Regions from separate parts of the Homo sapiens genome. Here all the other regions are linked to region 2. The links are contacts of gene promoters, found by promoter capture Hi-C in blood cells and fetal thymus (Javierre and others, 2016). All regions are on one chromosome and are shown on one strand. Each heading gives the region's core, a stretch centred on a gene start or on the middle of the fragment in contact. The rest is flanking DNA. Distances are from core to core; before and after follow the strand shown.

Region 1 (2,937 bases), core at 112-2,611, 3.8 Mb after region 2:
GTGAAAGAACTCGCTCAGGGTCCCACAGAGCTCAGGCAGAGCCCAGACCTCCCGACCCGAGTCCAGGGCTATATCCAGGCCTGGCTCCACAGGACCACAGGGCCCCACATGCAAATAGGAATAATAAGCGCCAAAACACACAACCCATGCACAAAAACACTCAATAACAAATGCTGGCAAACGTGAAGTGCTATCAAAGTATATAATCATAAATCCAACTGTTACACCTTTCAACAAGAATCTGGGAGCAAGAAAAGTGTTCATGTGTGGATGTGCTTATTTCTCAAATACTATACATTCCTCAACTGCTTACTTTCATTAATAAGACCCAAATTACGGAACAAAGGATAAACAGTCAATCTCACAATCACTACCCCTAGACCACCATACCACAACACCCCCAATTAAAAAAACGGCTACAAGCTTTGATTTCCCAAAACACTTCTATCCTGTGGGAAACTGCCGGGTTCTAAAACATCTCCAAATTAATACTGCCAGTTGTCTTAGTTGGTTTCCTGCTTGCTGATCAAAAACAGGGTTGACATCTGCTTTCTCCAGCAACTACTGACCACACAAATTACCTACTCTAGCTCCACAGCACTTAAGTTACTCCCAAAACGTTACTTCTCATCCTGCATTTTCCTGGCCTTGCCCATAATAAAATTACGTGCAGGAGCAGCTGACGGAGCTCACTAGGCCTAGCACCTCCTAGGCTGCAAGAAAGGTGCAGAGGCCTCGCAGGGGAGAGCTGTAATATGAGAACCGGGATTCCAACCTGGGCTCAGCCTGCCCTGCCGCCCGGCAACTGTATGACCTTGGGCACAGAGGTCAACCTCCCTGAGCCTCAGTTTCCTCAACTGCAGCGCTGGAATCCTAACTCCGGGGGAAAGAAAGGCTCTCATCCCAGTCCCCGGCGCAAAGCTGGGGATGATCGCGCAGAGCCAGGACGCACCCGCGCTGGCCGGCTGGAGCTAGTCCCCGCGGTTCTGGGACTGCGCGGCAGCCCCCAGTGGCCCCTACGCCGCTCGAGATCAGCCAAGCCGGGCCCACACCGGGCCTCGCGGCGCGTCAGGAAAGCCAGGCCCGAGGGATGCTCGCGAGGCCCTCCCGGCCTCCGGGGCCTGTTTCCCCGCCTCCCTCCCCCGAACCACTTCCCGTAGAGGGCCCCGGGGACGTAGCCCGGCCGTCGGTCCTCGGGCCCCGGGGCCGAGCCCCCGCCTCGCCACGCGTCCTCAGCGCCCCGGCGCCGCGCCCCGCCCCGCCTAACCCGAGGCTGCGGCCCCTGCTCCACAGCGGGAGGCTGGAGGCGGCGGCTACTCACCGAGCGGCGCCGCGCGTGGCCGCCTTTGTATTGCAAACACCCAGCCCGCCGCCGGCTGTCAGCGCAGCTCGCCTTCGGGGGCGGGGCAGGGGCGGGGGCAGAGGGCAGGGGCGGGGCAAGCGGGGCGGTGCGAGGGGGACTCGGGACGCGCTGGTGGCCCGGCTGCTTTCAGGGCCTGCTGGCCGGCCCTGCCCGCTCACCCCTGGCCGCCTATCTTAGCGTTCCTGGGGGTGGGGCCCCTTAGGCCGCCTTTCTGATTTTCCTTTCCAGAGCCAAACTCGTGTGTTTCTTCAACACTCTGACTTGACCTATGCCGATGACTGGGGGAGTGAGGACGGAGGGGTGCAGAGAAAAGGCAGCCAGGTAAAAGTCCAGGTAAACCACCCAGGGCCTGGCCGCGATCACGTCGGTCCTATGGGTCCCGCTTATCACCAGTGGCGGGATCTGAGCCCGTCCTTGACTTTACTGACCCTCGCCCTTCGTTTCTTCCACCTTAAAGGCGCAATCGCGTTGACCTATCGCCATCTCTTCTTAGCTTCTCCACGCCGGGCCACCCCTGTCCTTCATCCTGATGGTGACAGCCTCCACTCCCGCCTCTGCCAAGCGGTGGTCCAGGTGCGGAACGGTGGCTCTGAACAGGAGGGACAGGCAGCTCCCTGCGCCTCTCCAGCCGGGAGGCAGGCAGCGGATAAACAATGAGCCACATAACGTCTGGTGGTGAAATGATTTCCATCAATGGGAGGGTGTCATATTTGAACTGAAACTCTAAATGACAAGAAACACCTATGACTACAAAGATGGGGAGGAGGCAGGGCTTTCTGGAGAGCAGAAATGGCAGGTGCAAAGGTCCTGGGGCCGGTGCTGTGGGCTGGAGGGAAGGCAGGGGCCAAATATTCAGGTCTTGTAGGCCAAGGCAAGGAGTTTAGGTATTATTTAAATGTTATTCCAAACCAATTCTTTTTGAGACAGGGTCCCACTCTGTCACCCAAGCTACAGTGCAGTGGCACAATCTCGGTTCACTGCAGCCTTCACCTTCTGGCCTCAGGCAATCCTCCTGCCTCAGCCTCTCAAGTAGCTGGGACCACAGGTGCATGCCACCACGCCCAGCTAATTTTTCAAACTATTTGTAGAGACCAGGTCTCCCTATGTTGCCCAGGCTGGTCTCAAACTGCTGGGCTCAAGCAGTCTTCCCACCTTGGCTTCCCAAAGTGCTGAGATTACAGGTGTGAACCACCACGCCTGGTCCAAAAAGAATTTTAAACCTGGGAATTATATGATCTAATTTACTTCTTTAAAAAGTCACCCCTCCACTCCATGGAAAATGGACTGCAGGAGTAGAAGCCAGCAGACAGGTGGCACTGCAGGAAACCGGGGGACATGATGGTGGCTCAGATTACAGGGGCTACTCAGCAAGAAGCGGAAGGACTTCAGAGAGATTTGGAGGCAAAACCCACAGGCTTACTGATGAATGGAACCGGTGGAGGTGTGTGATGCGATACTCAAAGGCAAGTCTCAGTGTGGAGATGGAACCGCTGCTCTGCTGAGATGCAGAGGGCCAGGGAGGAGGCCAGCTTAGAAACAGCATCGAATGCGGCAGCTTAGTGAATTGGATAAGC
Region 2 (2,944 bases), core at 189-2,688:
ACGTAGGGCTTTGAGGTCATTAAACTTTGAGAGAAATGGGAGCTGGTTAGAGGCTTCCCAGCAGAGGCTTTTAATTGCATCACCGCCTAATGCATCTTGATGGATATCATGAATATAATTATCTCAAGGGATATTCAGTATTTGTGTTTCTTTTGATGTGAAACAGTGTAATACTTTGTACAGTATATATTCATTCATGTTACAGTAGGCTCTGCTTATAACTGTCCACAAAGAGGTATTTGTTGAATGAATGAATGAATGAACAAATGGGGTTGACCTTTTCGCTCCCTCCATGCGGGTTCTCAACCTATTATTTCAACTTTATTGCCCCTACACCCTTTCTCAACTTGGGTTCTATTCACCCGTCTTGTTGAGTACTAATTAGGAAAAAAAAAAAGGCAGGCTAGTGGGAGCAGGGAAAAACAAAGAGATAAGGCAAATTAGCTATACGTCTGTCTTTCTTCATGGTCCAAAACATATAAACAAAAGGAAGAAACAAATAAGCCATAGGTCTACTTTTCTTTATGGCCCAGGACATATGGCCCTTCTACCCAGATAACGTACTTAACTCACAAACTTCCTGCTTACCTTCAAATGCCTCAATTTCTGAAACACTTCAGCTGACAAAAAAAAAAAAAAAAAAAGAAAGAAAGAAAAAAAAAAAGCAAGTTAACTCCCTGCTACCTGGTGTTATCAATCACTCCAAGTTCCAGTCTATAAAATTCTCAACAAGCCTTTGTTTCCTAGCAATGAGCTCCTCCTCTGCTGAGTCGGCCCGCTGCTCCCTGGCAACGAACTTTCATACTTTCTTTAATCTGTCTTTCTTTATCTACCACTGTCTTGGTAAATTCTTTTACTCCCACACTGAGAAAGTCGTCACTCACTGGCGACACGTTGAAAGAGTTCTTTCAACTCTGTATTTCTGCCTCTGTCTCTGCTCATTCCATTTCCCGCTACTTGAAATGCTTCTCCAGTAGATTAAAATTCTGCCTATTGTTAAAGACGCAGGGACAAGCTCCACGTCCTCCAGGAAATCCCTGCAGACTCTGGCCTTCGTTGCCTTTTCTGAGCTCCTGTAGCATCCTTCCTCTGCTACCTTTCATTGGATAACTTTAGTTGTTTATTTTAAAACCACTGTTTGAACTCTCTCTACGTGTTAGGCAAAGAATATACAAATGAACATTAGCATTTCAGTGGGGTACCTTTACCATTTCTGTTTTATGGAAACTGAGTTATAAGAGAGGCTCAATGACTTGGCCGATCTCATGTAGATTAATGAACAAGGAGTGTATCAGGACCGGGACACAAGTCGTTCCCAAGACAAGCAATAGTCCCTGTCCTTCCTACTCATAAAAGGGTTAACCTAGCATTTCCTTGCCGTGAAACAAAAGCGGCCGCGGATAGAGAAGCTTGTCCTGTGAGGGATTCCGTAGAGACACTCCTCCGCTGCCTGAGTCCTCGGCGAACATGGCGGCCCCCGAGTCAGGGCCGGCTTTGAGTCCAGGCACTGCAGAGGGTGAGGAGGAGACGATTCTCTATGACTTGTTGGTCAACACCGAGTGGCCACCGGAGACTGAAGTACAGGTGAACCAGGCCCATCTACAGCAGCAGCCAGCTTGGCGCGGGCGCTTCGTGGGTAGAGCCACGTAGCAGGAGCCACGTAGGGGAGTGGAGACGGGTGGGTGGGGGACTAGGGCCGGTTGGCTTGTGCGGTCGCCTTGGCAACGGCACCTTGGGCTAGCGGGGGTCTAGGGCGGGGTGGGGTGGTGGTCCCTGAGATTCTTCCTGGGCTCAGAATTCGGTTGTTGGGGGCTGGAACTTCGTGCTCTGGGGAGCGTACGATCCCACTTTGGTTCTCAGTTTCGCTCTCTGTATTGGGAGGAGAGGGGATTGTTAGTGTCGCTCTCTGTATTAGGAGGGGAAGGCACAGCGCTGGACTCGAGGGTCCTTTCTCCTATCTGGACCCTCAGTGGTCCCTTCTCGCGGTCTGGCTAGGGCTAGTCTGGGCCGACGCTCAACTGCGATGGGAGAATTTTCCAGGACCTTACAGTCTGCAGCATCTGCCAGGCTGGTGCAGAGCGCAGAATCTGAGCCTTTACCCATACTGGGGGCTGGATCGCGCCAGGTCTTGTGTGTTTCAATAAAAGAGCATTTAATAAGGGTGTGCGTGTCCGTTCGTCTGTCTCGGTGTCACAGGTGCTGTGCTAGGTGCTAAGGATACAGAGATGAATATGTTTTCGTGGAGCTTCTCGTCTAGAGGGGAGACAGTCCCGTAAACGTTTTTCATAACCTAGCGTTTTATGCGCTATAGTTAGCGATGTGAGCAAAATGCCACGGAAGTGCAGAGTAAAGAGCTGCTGACTGGGATTGGGATCTCCGCTACAGAAGGGTTATAGAGGTTGATAATTTATGGACTGGATCTTGGGATTATCAGTTGTTTGGTAGTGAAGGCCTCCCGGGTCTGTGATGAAGAGTAGGAACCATGGATCCATGTTTATTTTATTTTATTTTTTATTATTATTATTTTTTGGATCCATGTTTATTTAACAGATATTTATTGAGTGCTTAACACGTGCCAGTTACTGTTTTAGACCCAGAGGAAGCAGCCAGATCGAAAAGAACCTTTATTAAAGATTATGTAGTCCAGCCCATGTGAGTTATCTTACATTTTTTCTGAGTGTTTCTTTGCTGGAGAAACGACTCATTTTTCAGCCCAAAGTTTGTATTTTTTTCCTCTGTAGCCTCCTTCCCACTGCAGTTTGTGCTTATCATGAATAATTTATTTTGTAGACGGGTAGAGATCTGCATATATTACTGTTTAATTTCAAGTACTTAGTTTGTCTTAATGTGAATATTTTTTGGGTTATGCAGCTAGGAAGCTGTTGCTGAGGCAGCTGGTTAGATAAGTTTCCACTCCTTAACACTCATTGGTTAATTGCAGTAA
Region 3 (2,901 bases), core at 342-2,841, 4.3 Mb before region 2:
CATGAGTAGCTGGGATTACAGGCACCCGCCACCACGCCCAGCTAATTTTTTGCATTTTTAGTAGAGACGGGGTTTTGCCATGTTGGCCAGGCTGTTATCAAACTCCTGTCCTCAGGTGATCTGCCCGCCTAGGCCTCCCAAAGTGCTGGGATTACAGGCATGAGCCACAGAGCCTGGCCATCTCCACTTTTTCTTATCCCCCAAAAGGATTAACATCCCTGGCTTTATGTAGAATAGTGTACGCTGCCACATCAGTGTTTGAGTCATTCCCCAGAGGAGAGGGGAATCCCCCCTCCATTTTTTTTTTTGCAACATCTTGTCTTCCCTTTGCTGTTGCTTCCCCCAACACACTTGGTTTTGTTCTATCCTGTACTTCAGATTTGTTTTTTGTTTTGTTTTTTTCATATTGAAAAGATGACATTGCTCCAAGAGGCAAAAATAAATGGGAACTGAAAAAAAAAAGCTTTTTATCTTATTTATTTAATCTTTTAATTCACCTGGAATGAATATTATGTCAATTGGGAGCTTAAATGCTTAAATGTATTTTTCCCCAAATGGTTAACTAATCCTCCCAATAGCACTCATTTGAATAATCTGTCCTTTCCCCATATATGTTACATGTCTTTTACAAAATACAGCCTATTTGAGGTATGTTTCTGGGCTTTTGTTCTATTGAGCTGTCCATTTGCTTACACCAGAAATGCCAGTTTATTTTTTTGTAGTCTTGCAATCTTTTAATTTCTACTAGTGCTTTTTAATTTAACCTTAATCCACTGTATTTGTATTTTTTTCAGTGGTGGTAAAAGGAAAAAATTAAAAATCTAATGAAAGCAGCCAAAAGCACACAATTTATGTCCTGTTAAGACTTCCGCATGTAAGTATCATGCTCCAAATATATTTTTCATCTTTACTTTTTATGACGGAAAGGGCTCAAGTACTTTGGGAAGCAAAACAGAATCGAGGGACGCCGAGAAGATACACAGCAGGCATGTAGGGTAGCGTGGTTGGCAACTGTTCTTACAAAATTTTAATTTGAATTATACGTAATGTACGTAATAAATTACTATTTGGATTTCCCTTTGGCATAAACAGCCAGGGAATATAACTAACATCAAAGATCCCAGACTCTCGACACAATATACTACTAATCGTAACACAATTCTAGAGGGTCAAAAAAGGTAGAGAAGTTTGGACCGTGGAACAGACCTGGTGGAATGTCGACACAAAGCGTTTCAGGGTAGACAAAGCCTACTCAGAACACCCTAAACGCGGAGTTTTGCTAAGTTGGGACGCTAAAAGGCAAGGGAATGACAGGACGTCCGCAGGCTAATTCGCCATTAAGAAACAGAACCGCGGCTTCTTCCACCTCCAGCGTCATCGGCCCCCAATTCGCTGTAACAAACGGATAGTGTCTCGCAGCATCAGACAACGGACTTGGAAATCAGTTTGCGACCACGCATCTGCGCCTTTTCTAGGAAAAGAGGAAGGCGGGTCCAACACTGGTAACGGCAGAAACATAGTTCACAAGGGCCACTGCAAACGCCCCGCCAGCAGCGGAACCGTTATCTCGCGAGACGACGGATCCCCATAAGGCACAAACCTAGCGCCAAGGTTGGCTGTCAAGGTAGATTCCAGGGTGTGGAAGTGGCTTTGTGGTGCCACCTCTAACCGCTCGGAGGTCAACCCCCATTCTACACCGAAAACTAGGCCTTGGCTGCTATGGAAGGACAGCGGCAAGAAAGCCACGCAACCCTAACACTCGCCCAGGCTCATTTCAACAATGGAGAGTACGCGGAGGCCGAGGCACTGTACTCCGCTTACATTCGCCGGTGCGCTTGCGCGGCCTCCAGCGACGAGAGTCCCGGGAGGTAACTATCGCGAGACCTGGGGCCGCGGCGACCCCGGGTGGAGGCGACGTTGGGGTTGTTTGGGCTCCTATCTTTGCCTCTGGAGCTCACGGTCGGCGCTTGTCATAACCCAGCACTAGGACTGAGCGGGCGGACGTTCGTCTTTCTAGAAAGGCCTAGGCGAGGCCTAGGACGAGGGCGGCGGAGAACGCGGGGAGAAGCCCACCCGTGAGGAGCCAGCTGCCGCGACGGTGCGGAGAGATTTCCGGGAACCAAGCCCTCTGCGCGATCCTCGGGCGCGGGCCGCCGCCTCTCACCCCGCCGTCTCTCCTTCCACGTTCCTCATTCGCACCCAGAGACTTAGGACAGATAGGAATTTTCCACTCGTGATTTTAGCTGGCGGGAAATCCGCGACCTGGGAAGGGAAGGGGTCACGGCTGCGTAGGGCCACAGTACCGCGACTCCCATCTCAGTGTCACGGCGCAGGCTCTTGGTGGTGTTTTTCACTTGTGAAAAACGTTTAAATATGTGGAAGAGAGCATAACGAACGTCTAGGTGTTTATCACTTGGCTTAAGCATTATCAGTTTACCTATTGTATTCATCCATGGATGTTTCAGAAGGAACCACCATGTCATCATCACATAGTTACTTAATATCAAGTCGTCAGTGTTGGAACCATTCTGATCGACTAATAAGGTGTTTTGTTCTTTGGTTCCCTTTTCGCAGTTAGTTCAAGTCAGGATACACATCAAGTCTTTTTAAGTCTCTTCTCCACCTTCCCCTCTTTATTTGTTGAGGAAACCGATTCTTGTGTCCTTTGAATTTCCGTGTTTTGGACTTGCTGACTGAATCTCTTCTGTCGTTTAATGTGGTCATCTGTCTCATATTGCTGTGAATTGGTGGTTAAACCTTGAGGTTTGATCCAATTGAATTCAGATTCAATATCATGGCAAGAATACTTTTTAGGTGGGTGTGTGTACTTTCACCAGGAAGCACATAACGATTCGCTGACTTTCTCTTTGTGATGTGAGCGGCTTCACCTGTTACTGTCTG

The links. The method cuts DNA at HindIII sites, captures the fragments that hold promoters and counts their contacts. A CHiCAGO score of 5 or more calls a contact.
Region 1: a contact is called between the fragment with the promoter of LPIN1 here and the fragment with the promoter of NBAS in region 2, in 6 of 17 cell types (total CD8 T cells, naive CD8 T cells, erythroblasts and 3 more). The highest score is 8.4, in total CD8 T cells.
Region 3: a contact is called between the fragment with the promoter of TTC32 here and the fragment with the promoter of NBAS in region 2, in 10 of 17 cell types (naive CD4 T cells, naive CD8 T cells, non-activated CD4 T cells and 7 more). The highest score is 17.1, in naive CD4 T cells.

What each region holds. Positions count from the first base shown.
Region 1 is chr2:11,745,056-11,747,992 of GRCh38, reverse strand. LPIN1 (lipin 1) reads right to left here and starts at 1,361. Exons shown (of 21, transcript NM_001349206.2): 1 at 1,322-1,361. It overlaps LOC124907735 (a long non-coding RNA gene), which reads left to right and starts at 2,534. Exons shown (of 2, transcript XR_007086220.1): 1 at 2,534-2,937. RefSeq lists enhancers at 1-109, 2,621-2,937 and a silencer at 1,113-1,682. The HindIII fragment of the contact is 2,521 bases long and covers 426-2,937 here.
Region 2 is chr2:15,559,828-15,562,771 of GRCh38, reverse strand. It overlaps NBAS (NBAS subunit of NRZ tethering complex), which reads left to right and starts at 1,438. Exons shown (of 52, transcript NM_015909.4): 1 at 1,438-1,584. The coding sequence starts at 1,468. It overlaps LOC105373440 (a long non-coding RNA gene), which reads right to left and starts at 624. Exons shown (of 4, transcript XR_001739297.2): 1 at 589-624. RefSeq lists an enhancer at 1,239-1,648. The HindIII fragment of the contact is 4,253 bases long and covers 1,412-2,944 here.
Region 3 is chr2:19,900,673-19,903,573 of GRCh38, reverse strand. TTC32 (tetratricopeptide repeat domain 32) reads left to right here and starts at 1,591. Exons shown (of 3, transcript NM_001008237.3): 1 at 1,591-1,868. The coding sequence starts at 1,720. RefSeq lists enhancers at 1,239-1,478, 868-1,748, 1,929-2,028, 2,109-2,168, 2,309-2,498 and 1 more. The HindIII fragment of the contact is 3,134 bases long and covers 466-2,901 here.